Linked DNA regions of Homo sapiens: region 2 is linked to region 1. Evidence: promoter capture Hi-C in 16 types of primary human blood cells and fetal thymus (Javierre and others, 2016). All regions are on one chromosome and are shown on one strand. Each heading gives the region's core, a stretch centred on a gene start or on the middle of the fragment in contact. The rest is flanking DNA. Distances are from core to core; before and after follow the strand shown. Region 1 holds the start of IKZF5 (IKAROS family zinc finger 5). Region 2 overlaps ADAM8 (ADAM metallopeptidase domain 8).

Evidence for each region. The method cuts DNA at HindIII sites, captures the fragments that hold promoters and counts their contacts. A CHiCAGO score of 5 or more calls a contact.
Region 2: a fragment that was not itself captured here is called in contact with the fragment with the promoter of IKZF5 in region 1 in 1 of 17 cell types (fetal thymus); the score reaches 5.3 in fetal thymus.

Annotation. Positions count from the first base shown.
Region 1 is chr10:123,005,952-123,010,999 of GRCh38, forward strand. IKZF5 (IKAROS family zinc finger 5) reads right to left here and starts at 2,844. Exons shown (of 5, transcript NM_001372123.1): 1 at 2,743-2,844; 2 at 1,075-1,225. It overlaps ACADSB (acyl-CoA dehydrogenase short/branched chain), which reads left to right and starts at 3,055. Exons shown (of 11, transcript NM_001609.4): 1 at 3,055-3,120. The coding sequence starts at 3,079. RefSeq lists enhancers at 2,121-2,350, 2,631-2,960. The HindIII fragment of the contact is 4,856 bases long and covers 1,561-5,048 here.
Region 2 is chr10:133,258,132-133,263,400 of GRCh38, forward strand. ADAM8 (ADAM metallopeptidase domain 8) reads right to left here. Exons shown (of 23, transcript NM_001109.5): 23 at 4,292-5,102. The coding sequence ends at 5,025. Among named protein-coding and RNA genes, the nearest start is that of MIR202HG, 13 kb to the left of the region's middle. RefSeq lists enhancers at 1-206, 1,205-1,254, 4,193-5,169 and a silencer at 3,547-3,876. The HindIII fragment of the contact is 5,337 bases long and covers 1-4,344 here.

The DNA of each region.
Region 1 (5,048 bases), core at 1,594-4,093:
GATTGTTCCTTATGATATAGCAAAATTCCCAAATCCTTCCTGTGATTATTCTGATTAAAGTTAAGTTGAATATAGTATGGAATTCCATGGGGTGTAGGTGGATATCTATATAGAAACTGGCTAGGGTATACCTAAAGTATTGTCATGCCAGTAGCGTCCCCCAATTTATTATTCAAGGCTCAAAATCAATGCTTTCAGAAAACAACCAGAGGCTATGCAAGCCGGTAGGGGGAAAAGAGGTATAAGAGAATTAAGCTTTGATATCCCAAAGAACAGGAAAACCTCTACCTCAAGTAGGTAATTTAGGCTAATTTCCGATCTTCCTTGGTTTCTGATAAAGGATTTATTTTGTATGAAGTCGTCTGATCTTTCTTCTTCAGTCTCATAAATGGGAAGCTGTTGATCAATGCAAGCATATATACAAGCACACACACACAATTACATGTGTGTATATATGTGCACCCCCCCCAGCCTCTTAACCAGTAGCTAATAATTTAAAACACAGGCACTGAAATGCAAATTAGAAGGCATTCACAACTATGAAACAACCAGAGAAGAAGCTCTCTAACCTATCTTCCTTCTTCCTTCTATCTTTTTTATAAACTGTGGGAGAATTTTGAGAACATGATTAGGGAACAGCAGGATATGTTTCGTTCACCTAGCATTCATGAGAAGTCTTACTTCTCATAGGTAACCATAAGGAAGAATACAATATTAGCAACTAATTTACTTACATAATAATTTATGGGTAAGGCAGGCCTATACACATAAAGTGATTACAGTTCAATAGATGTGTTTACCCTCCATAGCCTAATAATTATGGTCACTGAGATTTACTCTGCTATAGAACACATATAAACAGACAACGTTGACAAATAAGGATTGGTTTCTATGGAGTAACATGGGCCTTCCAAAATAATTGGAACACAATTCCTGATTTCAGAACTGTCAAAAACTCTTGAAGGCAAAAAAAGAAATTATGAGGCTCTGAGAAATCAGAAATCAAAACATAAAAATAAAACATAAGTAAAACCATGTTGAAAGAAATCCAGAAGAGAAATTATACAATCTAACCTTTTCACCCCAAATCTGTTCCTCCTTTTTCTTGCCACTCCAACATTGATGAAATGTAGAGTAATTGAAATTTACTTCGGAGATACAGCAAGGGACTCCAAAAGGCCATGGAGAGAGAATTTCAACTAAAATTGAAAAGCCATACAGAGGTCTGCATAAAAAACAAACAGCACACCACAAATCAAAACCTTTAAGATAAAAACTTAATTAGCATCTACAGGTTGAATGAGCTAGTAACTTATGCCAATCTTATCATTACATTAGCTGAAAAGAAAACGAACTGACAGATTAATCAAAGAACAAAGCAGTAGCTTCACTTCAGCAAAAGCTCCATAGGATCACCAAAGAATAACTGGTGTGACTACCGTTTTCTCACTGGTGGATTAGTTTTTGGCAAGATTTTTAATGTCTAAATTTAAGTTAAACTTCAGTTTAAAGAAATTAAGATTAACTTCATTTAGTCACAGCACACTTCCAAAACGGTCAAGCTTAGTACTGCTGAACAGCTGTAGTTGCATAAAAACAACGCATAGTCCTAAGTAGGGAAATGGGAAAGGGCTTTAAATACAAAAACAAAAAAAACATGCACACCCGATAAGGGCACATCTGAATCCCATCCTTCTTATCCTATCATAACACAAAACAGCTACGGTTTTCTGGGAAACATCCTGGACCGCTAGGGGAAAATAACACCAGACATTTCAATTCACTGTAACGAACTCTCATCAATAATAATAACCTTTAGCTGTTGTGACAACACGACATAAATCAAAATTAAATTGAATTTTTAAAATTGTTAGTTCCTACGTTTAAAAAAAAGTTGTTTTAAATACATTCTGTTCTTTCAAAACTGAATTTCCTCAGATCACACAATTTAAGACGCCTTTATGTCTTCTTCCGCTTGTCACACGTCTTTCGGGTTCTGACCAGCACATCAAGGGGACTCTAAGCAGGCCACGTGGTTAGTGTTTGCTAGAACTTGTTTAGCTTCAGATCCAGTCATCGAGCATGCTAGGCTTGGCTACTCGCGCTCCACACAGTTTATCCAAAGATCTAAACCCCGAATGAACCTGAATAGTTATTTGCTACAATGTCTTTCTCAAATCTCACATGTTCCTAAAATAAGGGTGCCCATGCAGTAGAGACGGATCCGGGCAGGATCATTAGATAAAATACGAAGGCTTTAAACGTCCTTCTCCCAACAATCAGCCTGGGACCGGCGTCGGGGCAGCAGCCTCACCAAGATTCGGAGCGACATCCTCGCCAGGATTCGAAACACCTAGGAGACCCGCGCCCGGCTGACTCCCAGCCCCTGGGACCCCGTGAAGACGCAAACCTCGGGACGCCTCCCGCAGAACCACCTGTCAGAGCCAAGCAACAGTCCCCGCCCCGGAGCCTCCGAGCTCCTGCTCGAAGGCAATGACAGCAGGAGACCCCGCTCCCTCGGGGTTCTCGCGGCCATAGGCGCCGCAGTCCACTGCCCTCCGGCTAAAGAGGTCCCGGGCCATCACCTGCCCGCCTACCGACCACGCCCGACCCTCCACTGAACTGAGTCTCCGTCCGGATCAGCCGGCCCGCCACGAACCCAGCTCCAGTCTCCGGCCGCTCCTTCTTATCCGCCCTGTCCTGCCGCGTCGCCGCCGTCCGAGCCGGCAGCCTGCTACTTACCTCCTGACAACTGCATGGAGTAAACCACACCGCCTTGTTAAATGCCGTCGCCGCCGCCGCCGTCTTCGTCACCGTCACAGTCGCCGCCGCCATCTTTGTTGTGTCTCCGACTCCCTTCCCGCCCCCCTGCCTTGCTCAAGTCTCGCGTGAGCAGGATGGAGGGCGAAAGCGAGGAGGGGCCTGTTTGTCTCTCTTGGGGTTCCGTAGGCAGCAGGGGGCAGGGATTAAGGGGGGGTGTGTGCGGGGCGGGTACTGAGTGGGCGGGGCCTTGCTCGGGTAACTCCCAGGGGCTGGCTAGAGACCCAGAGGCGCAGAGCGGAGAGGCCTGCGGCGAGGATGGAGGGCCTGGCAGTGCGGTTGCTGCGCGGCAGCAGGCTGGTGAGTGCGTTCGAGGCTGGCGTCCTGGGGGCCCAGGGCGACCTTGGCCCCTGGAATCGCAGCTGGCAGAGCCTTCTAACGGGCCTCGGGGCGCCGGCCTGAGCCCCGCTCCACGTCCTGGGTCCCCAGACTCTTTACCCGCGGGCAGTCTATGACCCCGACCCCCTTCAGGCCTCTGGTGGAGGCAGCTGGTGGCAAGGGGGTCGGGGCTGTCTAGAAGCTGCTTTGGCGGAGCAAGTACCTTGAGTGGAGTCGGAGGGTCGCGTCCGCAAGATGTCCTTTGCAGGCCGTTGCGTCCTGAGAGCCACCGAGTCTGGATCTCTGGATCTCTGGATGCATTTTGCACAGATGTCACCTCCCTGATGCCCTAACGCACCTTTCCCGAGTGATTACATTTCACACCCCCTCCCCCAAAAAAGATAGTTAAAATATAGGCCCAGTCTCATTCTGAGCAGGTGTCTCCCTGTCCTTCCTTCCGCGGCCCCGCTCAAAGGTAGTAAGGGACTTCGGAGTTGTTCGGGCTTCCCGGCCAGGGACAGAGTTCCCTCTGCCCCTTATCTCATGTCTGGAGCCTGGGTATCTTCCGTGGATAGACTCACCGCCGCCCAGGGGAGCCGGAGCCGGTGCCGGTCCCTCTTCCATGAACTTAAGCTGAAACCAGCCTCTTGTTGTGCTTAATTCTTATCTGTGCACCCACACAAACTGTTAACAGCCCCTGTGTTAACATCCTATGCTCTTCACCCCTTGGACCTATTATATAGCATGCTTTTCAGAACATACACATTTGGATACACTTGTATTTGTCAGTACACTTCACTGGGAATTTTCCCACTGCTTACGTGTGCTTTTAATGTTTCCTTTGCATTTGCTTTAATGAGTTAGGCTTTCCAACTGCTGCTTCAGTCTTATGCCCAGAGGCAGAACTCTGACCCTTTTTCTTATTAGAGATAATTAATGTTATTTGACTGTTTTACAGGCCTGAAGTGCAATAAAAAACAGTAAGTGATTATTGTTTAATACTGTTTATAATTGTTGGTTAATAACTTAGCAAAGAAAATTTCTTTGGTTTTACAATTTGACTCTGTTTTAGAGCCAAAATTTATTGACCGCATACTCTGTGGTAGGCACGTTCTCGTTCTACCTGAGTCATCTCAATTCTCACAACCATCTTAACAAGTAGTTTAATCTTGCAGATGCTGAAAAAGAATAATAGCTTGCCCACAGATAGAAAGGGATAGAGCTGGTGGTATTCGAACTCTGGTCTGATTCTAAACTTAACCTTCATATACTACTGTCTCCCCGTCCTTAGAGATATCAAAAACCTATTTTGTTTGAACTTTTGGTTTATTGTGGCTTATAGTCCTTTATAGTTTTTGAAGCTCTTTTACATAAATTAGCTAAATTGATTGAACATCGACTGTAGCATAGTGGTTAAGAACGTAGGTTCTGTAGCTAGGCTGCTTGGATCTGAACCCAGGCCCTCTCACTTCCTAGTGGTATAACCTTGGACAGGTTATGCTTTGGGTCTCAGTTTCCTGGTCTGTAAATGGAGAGAATAATTGTGCGTATTCCAAAATTGTTGTGAAAATTAAATGAGCTCATATGTTCATGTAAGGCACTTAGAATAGTGCTCGGAATGTAGTCAGCTCTCGGTAAATATCAGCTCTTACTGCCATGCACGAAGCATTGTGTGCTATGCCAGATGTAATAATGAATAAAATACTCTACCTCCAAGAAGTTTATCTTTTAGAGGAAAGGTTAGAACTATGTGCAACTAACCCCATGTCATGTAGGTGTGGAACAAATCCTAAGGGGCTACAGTCTGCGTGCAGATTCAGAAGATAGAAATGACTAGGACCATTGGGGAAGTGATAGGCTCTTTGGAAGCTGGGTTAGAGTTTAGGAGGGGAAAGGAGTGGTCAGAAAAC
Region 2 (5,269 bases), core at 426-2,925, about 10 Mb after region 1:
CTCCATCGAGAGGGTTCCTGGCTTCAACACCCTCCACCAGCCTCATGCCACCAGGGCCCTGGTCATCCTGGGGACCCTGCAGAGGGCCTCCTGGGCCTGTCTTCCGGCGGGTGAGCCGGCCCTGCCTGTGGGTGTCTGGGGTGTGGCCTCCAGGCACCAAGCACCCGCTGGCTCCTGATACCTGCCTTTCTGGCTGTGGTGTGTCTCTGGCCTGGCGCCTGTTTCTGAGTCCCTGGAGAGAGCAGGTTCCTCGCAGGTGGCAGGCAGCCCTGTTTGTGTGTGCATGAGCCTGTGGGGGCACCTGGAGCTGAGCGGTGGCCTGTGCTGTCACCACCCGGGGTGGCAGGGCAGGGTCTGGCACTGCCACAGCTCCTGACAGAAGCTGCCTAGGCCTGGGTTGGCTCGGGCTTCTCGGCCAGGCCCTTCCCCAGCACTTCCTGCCCAGCCCCAGCTGCAGGACCTGCTGAAATCTGTGCTGTGGGAGCCCTGTCTCTGAGGGGTCACTGCAGTGACTCCAGAAAACCTGAGTCTCCTGATTCCAGGAGCACCGCTTGCAGCCTGCCACGTGCATGACCCAGCATGACCCGGACTCCTGAGCCAGGACCGAGTCCCCCTGACAGCGGGGAAGCGGCGGACCCTGGGGGCTGGCACCCGCCGTGGCCCTCCCCAGCCCACTGTGGCACTGAGGGGCTGCTCCCCTGGGAATGGCCCCTTCCTAGAGGCAGCCCTGGCCTGGCTTCGAGAGGGGCTCTGGGAACAGGCGGCCCCGGGTAGCTGACCACACCTGACCAGGCCAGTCTTTGGGAAGCCGCCCTCTCAGCCTATGCACTGCAGGGACACTGGGTGGAGAGGGCTGTGCCTCAGTGCCCCTGCAGGGCGGTGCAGCAGCTGGCCGTGCAGGGGGAGGGGGCCTTGCCTTCTGGCTCAGGGAGGAAGCGGCTGCTTTCAGCTGCCTTCGCCTTGCCTCCTGAGGCGGCTTTGGAACCCTCCTGAGGTTTGTGGCCCTGAAGTTCCTTCCTGAGACCCCGCAGGGGACTAAGCCCTCGGCCCAGGGGCACCGGGGAGGGCAGAACCTCAAGACAGGGGCCCGGGACACAGGACAGAGTGTGTGGGGCAGGTGTGCAGGCTGTGCCCAAGGGGCCTCGGGGTTGAAGGGGCTCTTGGAGATGATGTCGACATCGCGGTTCCTGAGCGGGTGCCCAGATCTGGATGAGCTGTTTTCTGGAGAAAGCAGGAAAGTGACGTCATTTTGTGGCTTCAGATTGACCGCAGCCTGGCAGAGAGGGAGTGGTGGCAGGAAGTGAAGCTGCTGGCTTCCCAGTCACGGCCTCCATGATCCACGTGTGGCAGCAAGAATCACAGCTGCATCATGACACCCAGAGGGAAAGCAGCTCAAGCTGCAGTTTAAGGCGACTCCACGGAGGGCCCTGGCTTAGTTGTTGCACAGCATGGGGTCAGATGGATGCCCTGGAAGAGTCAGCAGAGACCCCCTGGCCTTTGGAGTTTGTCTCTGAGCGAGAGACACTGTTGGGATGACCGGCGAGTGGCGTTGGGTCCACATGGGGGCCCTGGTCCGGCTGAGTCTACTGAGCACAGGCCTGCCCCTTGCCACCCAGCTCTGCCCATATGTGGCCGTCATTCCTGGGCTTCACCTGGGAAACGTCCTTTGAGGCAGCTCAGCTTTTCCACAGTGGGTCACGTTGTTTGCTGCTGGAGACTGGCTGAGTCTGTGCTTCCAGTATAGGAAGGTTTAGGAGGCGGTCAGCAGGCCTCTCCTGTGGCCACTGTGCCCGAGGCAGGTGCCTGGGGTGAGAGGGATTCTTCCGGATGTGGCCGTGCACTGCCCAGCAGGCCTGGAGTGAACGTCTGTGTGGAGTCCGGGCTCCCATCCAGCATCCCTTAAGGGTCCTGATGGCTGGAGCTGGGGGAGGCAGGTATGGCAAGGGGCTTCCTGCACGCAGGAAAACTGGAGACCCCTGGTGAAAGAGCCAGGTGTGCACCTGCAGAGCCAGGCATGGGTCCACAGAGCCTGTCAAGCCTGGTTTACACCACAGAGCTGGGTATGCGCTGAGAACCAGGTGTGCACGGAGAGCCAGGTGTACACTGCAGAGCCGCGTGTGCACTGAGAGCAGGTGTGCGCTGAGAACCAGGTGTGCAGAGAGAGCCAGGTGTGCACGGAGAATCAGGTCTGCAGAGAGAGCCAGGTGTGCACTGAGAACCAGGTGTGCACGGAGAATCAGGTCTGCAGAGAGAGCCAGGTGTGCACTGAGAACCAAGTGTGCAGAGTCAGGTGTGCGCTGCAGAGCCGGGTGTGCACTGAGAACCAGGTGTGCAGAGAGAGTCAGGTGTGCGCTGCAGAGCCGGGTGTGCACTGAGAACCAGGTGTGCAGAGAGAGTCAGGTGTGCGCTGCAGAGCCGGGTGTGCACTGAGTCAGGTGTGCAGAGAGTCAGGTGTACACTGCAGAGCCGCGTGTGCACTGAGAGCAGGTGTGCATGGAGAGCCAGGTGTCTGTTGAGAACCAGGTGTGTGCAGAGAGCCAGGTGTGCACTGCATATCTAAGTGCTCATGTGGAGTCTTGGGCTGGGCAGGTGCTGCCCAGGACCCTGGCTCTCTGGCTGTCTTCTGTGCATTTGGGGATGGGAGAAGGGGCTCGGCTCTGGCTGGAGGGCAGCCAGGCAGACTTGCCAGCCAGCACCGCCAGGTGATAAGAGCTGGTGCCCACAGGTACTCAGCAAATGTCTGCATTTTGGGGAGGGCTGGAGAAAATGAAGGCCATGCCCTCTCTGCAAGGCTCCGCACAGGCCCTGTTTCCCAGTCCTTCAGCCACAGGGTGTCCCGGCAACAAGGGTGCCAGGTCGCCTGCACCCTGACTGTCTCCTGCGGAAAGGACAGCGCCTGCTCCTTGTCCTCCAGTAGCTGCTGGACTCCGGGGTCTGGGTGCTCTGGCGCCCGGCGGCTGGGTCCCCACTACAAGGTAGACACCAGCCTTGAATCCAACTGTCGAGGAAATGGGGTGGGCGGCGGAGGCTGGGGAGATCGGGAGGAAGGGAGGTATGGGCTTGAGAGACAGGAACCCACCCTCTGCAAGTGCAGTGGCCTGTCCCCTCCAGAACGCTCTCATTCTTCGTGCTGAAGGGAGCTGGGGGCGTGGCAGGCCTGCGAGACGAATGGGCGCTATCAGCTCAGGGCTCTGCCTCGGAGGAGCCACCCGGAGGCAGCACCCATGGGTGTGGGGGCTTGGCCACAGGGGACGTCAGGCCTCCTCGGTGCAGCACCAGATGCGTCTAACAGCCTCCGCCCCGTGGGCGCCCACTCAGACTTGCTGCTCAGGTGCCTAGAGCAGAAGCCACCTCCTCAGAGGCCAGCGCGCCAGCCTGGCACCACGGGGACGCTCCCAGGGGGTGCCCAGAGGGAACGTGCGCATCGGGCGGGGTACTGCGGCGCGTGTGGGCCGTGAGCCCCGCCCTGTAGTCGGACACTGGAGTCCCGGATCCTACAGATCTGAAAGGCTGAGTCGGATGCAGCAAAGGCGAAGCGGGGTTCGCAGCCCCAGACTCTTGGGCGGGGGGGTCAGCGAGCAACCGGGAGGGGCGCCGCGGGCCATTCGCCGCTTCTCCTGGGCCGAGGGCGCAGGCCCCTGCCGCGGGGGCCCCTCGGACTCCACGACTTCGCGGACGCGCGCCCACCGCCATAGCTGAGGTCCCGGGCCAGGCGGCGCGTGGGTGGCTGAGCGGGAGCGCGTCCAGCCAGGCGTGGAGGCCGCGCGGGGCCGGGGTCGAGCCCAGCATGGCGGGGGGGGTGCGGGGCAGTGGCCCGGACAAGGGCATGGGGCCGGAAGAGGCGGGGCCGTTGCCAGGAGACGAGACGGAATGGGCGGGGCGCGGGCGGGGGCCGTTGCCGGGAGACGAGACGGAATGGGCGGGGCGCGGGCGGGGCCGTTGCCGGGAGACGAGACGGAATGGGCGGGGCGCGGGCGGGGCCGTTGCCGGGAGACGGGGCGGGGGCGGGGCCGGGCCATTGCCCGGAGACGGGGCGGGGCAGGGGTAGCGCGGGCTCCTCCGTGCATCGCGGCGAAGTCTTCTTGGGCGTGGGTTCCTGGATCGGATCGTCTGCCCGCGGGAGGGGCGGGACTGCTTAGTTACGCTGGGGAGGGCCTGAGAAATCCAGGGAGAAAAGAAGGTGGCTTGACCTCATCTATTCGCAGTCTGCATTTTACCAAGCGCCGACCCTTGTATCTCGTGAACTGAAGCCCTCCATCCTTCCCCGCTGATCTAACAAGAATCTACAGAACTCGGTCAATAATTTATTAGTAAAATATACATTTCTCATTATTAAAGAATAAAAGCTTTCAGCCCTGCTGAACACACATCTGAGGTCTCAAGAAAACCAGACAAGATAGCTGACTCTCCCACATAGCCCTTTCCATAAAGGCGATTCCTAAGCTTAAACACACACAAAGCTGGGGCTGTCCCTCTTGAATCCCATGGGAAACAGGCCCCAAGATCAGGGGACCTGGAGTCGGGAGCTTGGGGTGCAGTCTGCTCACTGACACCCTCTCGAAGAGCACGCAGGGGAACCTGGTCCTGGGATGGAGTCTTTCTGGGGATGCCCCACGTCTGTGCTGCCTGGAACCGGGTGCCCAGGGCAGCCGGCTCAGCAGGCCCCAGAGCAGGGGCAGGTGTGGCTGGGAGGGGCTGTATATGTGGCCTCCTGAACACAGCGGGAGACCAGCGGCCACCTGGAGACACGTACACACACACGCACCCGCAAGCACACAGCTCATCCCAGCCTGGTGCCTGCAGACAGCTGGGGCTACACGTGGCCAAGGCGGGGAGAAGGAATTGGCTGAGGGCGTGGACAGCAGGAGCCTCTCAGGTAGATGCATTCCTGAGGTTAGAACAGCAGCTGAGCCTGCAAAGTCAGGGTCTAGGGCTGAGCGGCACTAGCTGGACCGTGGAATGCTGGAACGCATGGCTTCTCTGCCGCAACTTCTCCAAATTTCCACACAGGCGCAGGTGCCCCCCTAGGGTGCTGTGGGAGCTCCGGCTCCTTGCTTCCTCTGGATGGGGGGCTTCAGGGCAACCTTTGGGCCAACAGCACCCTGGGAGGAGGAAAAGATAATTGATGTTGAAAAACTACCTGCTATAAAAGGTATATAAAGGGTACAACGAAATTTTACGTCCTTTAACATCTCTTAAAATGTGGATTCTTGGTTCATCCACCAACAACATGGCCCATGCACACAATGGCAGGTGTGGCAGTCACAAT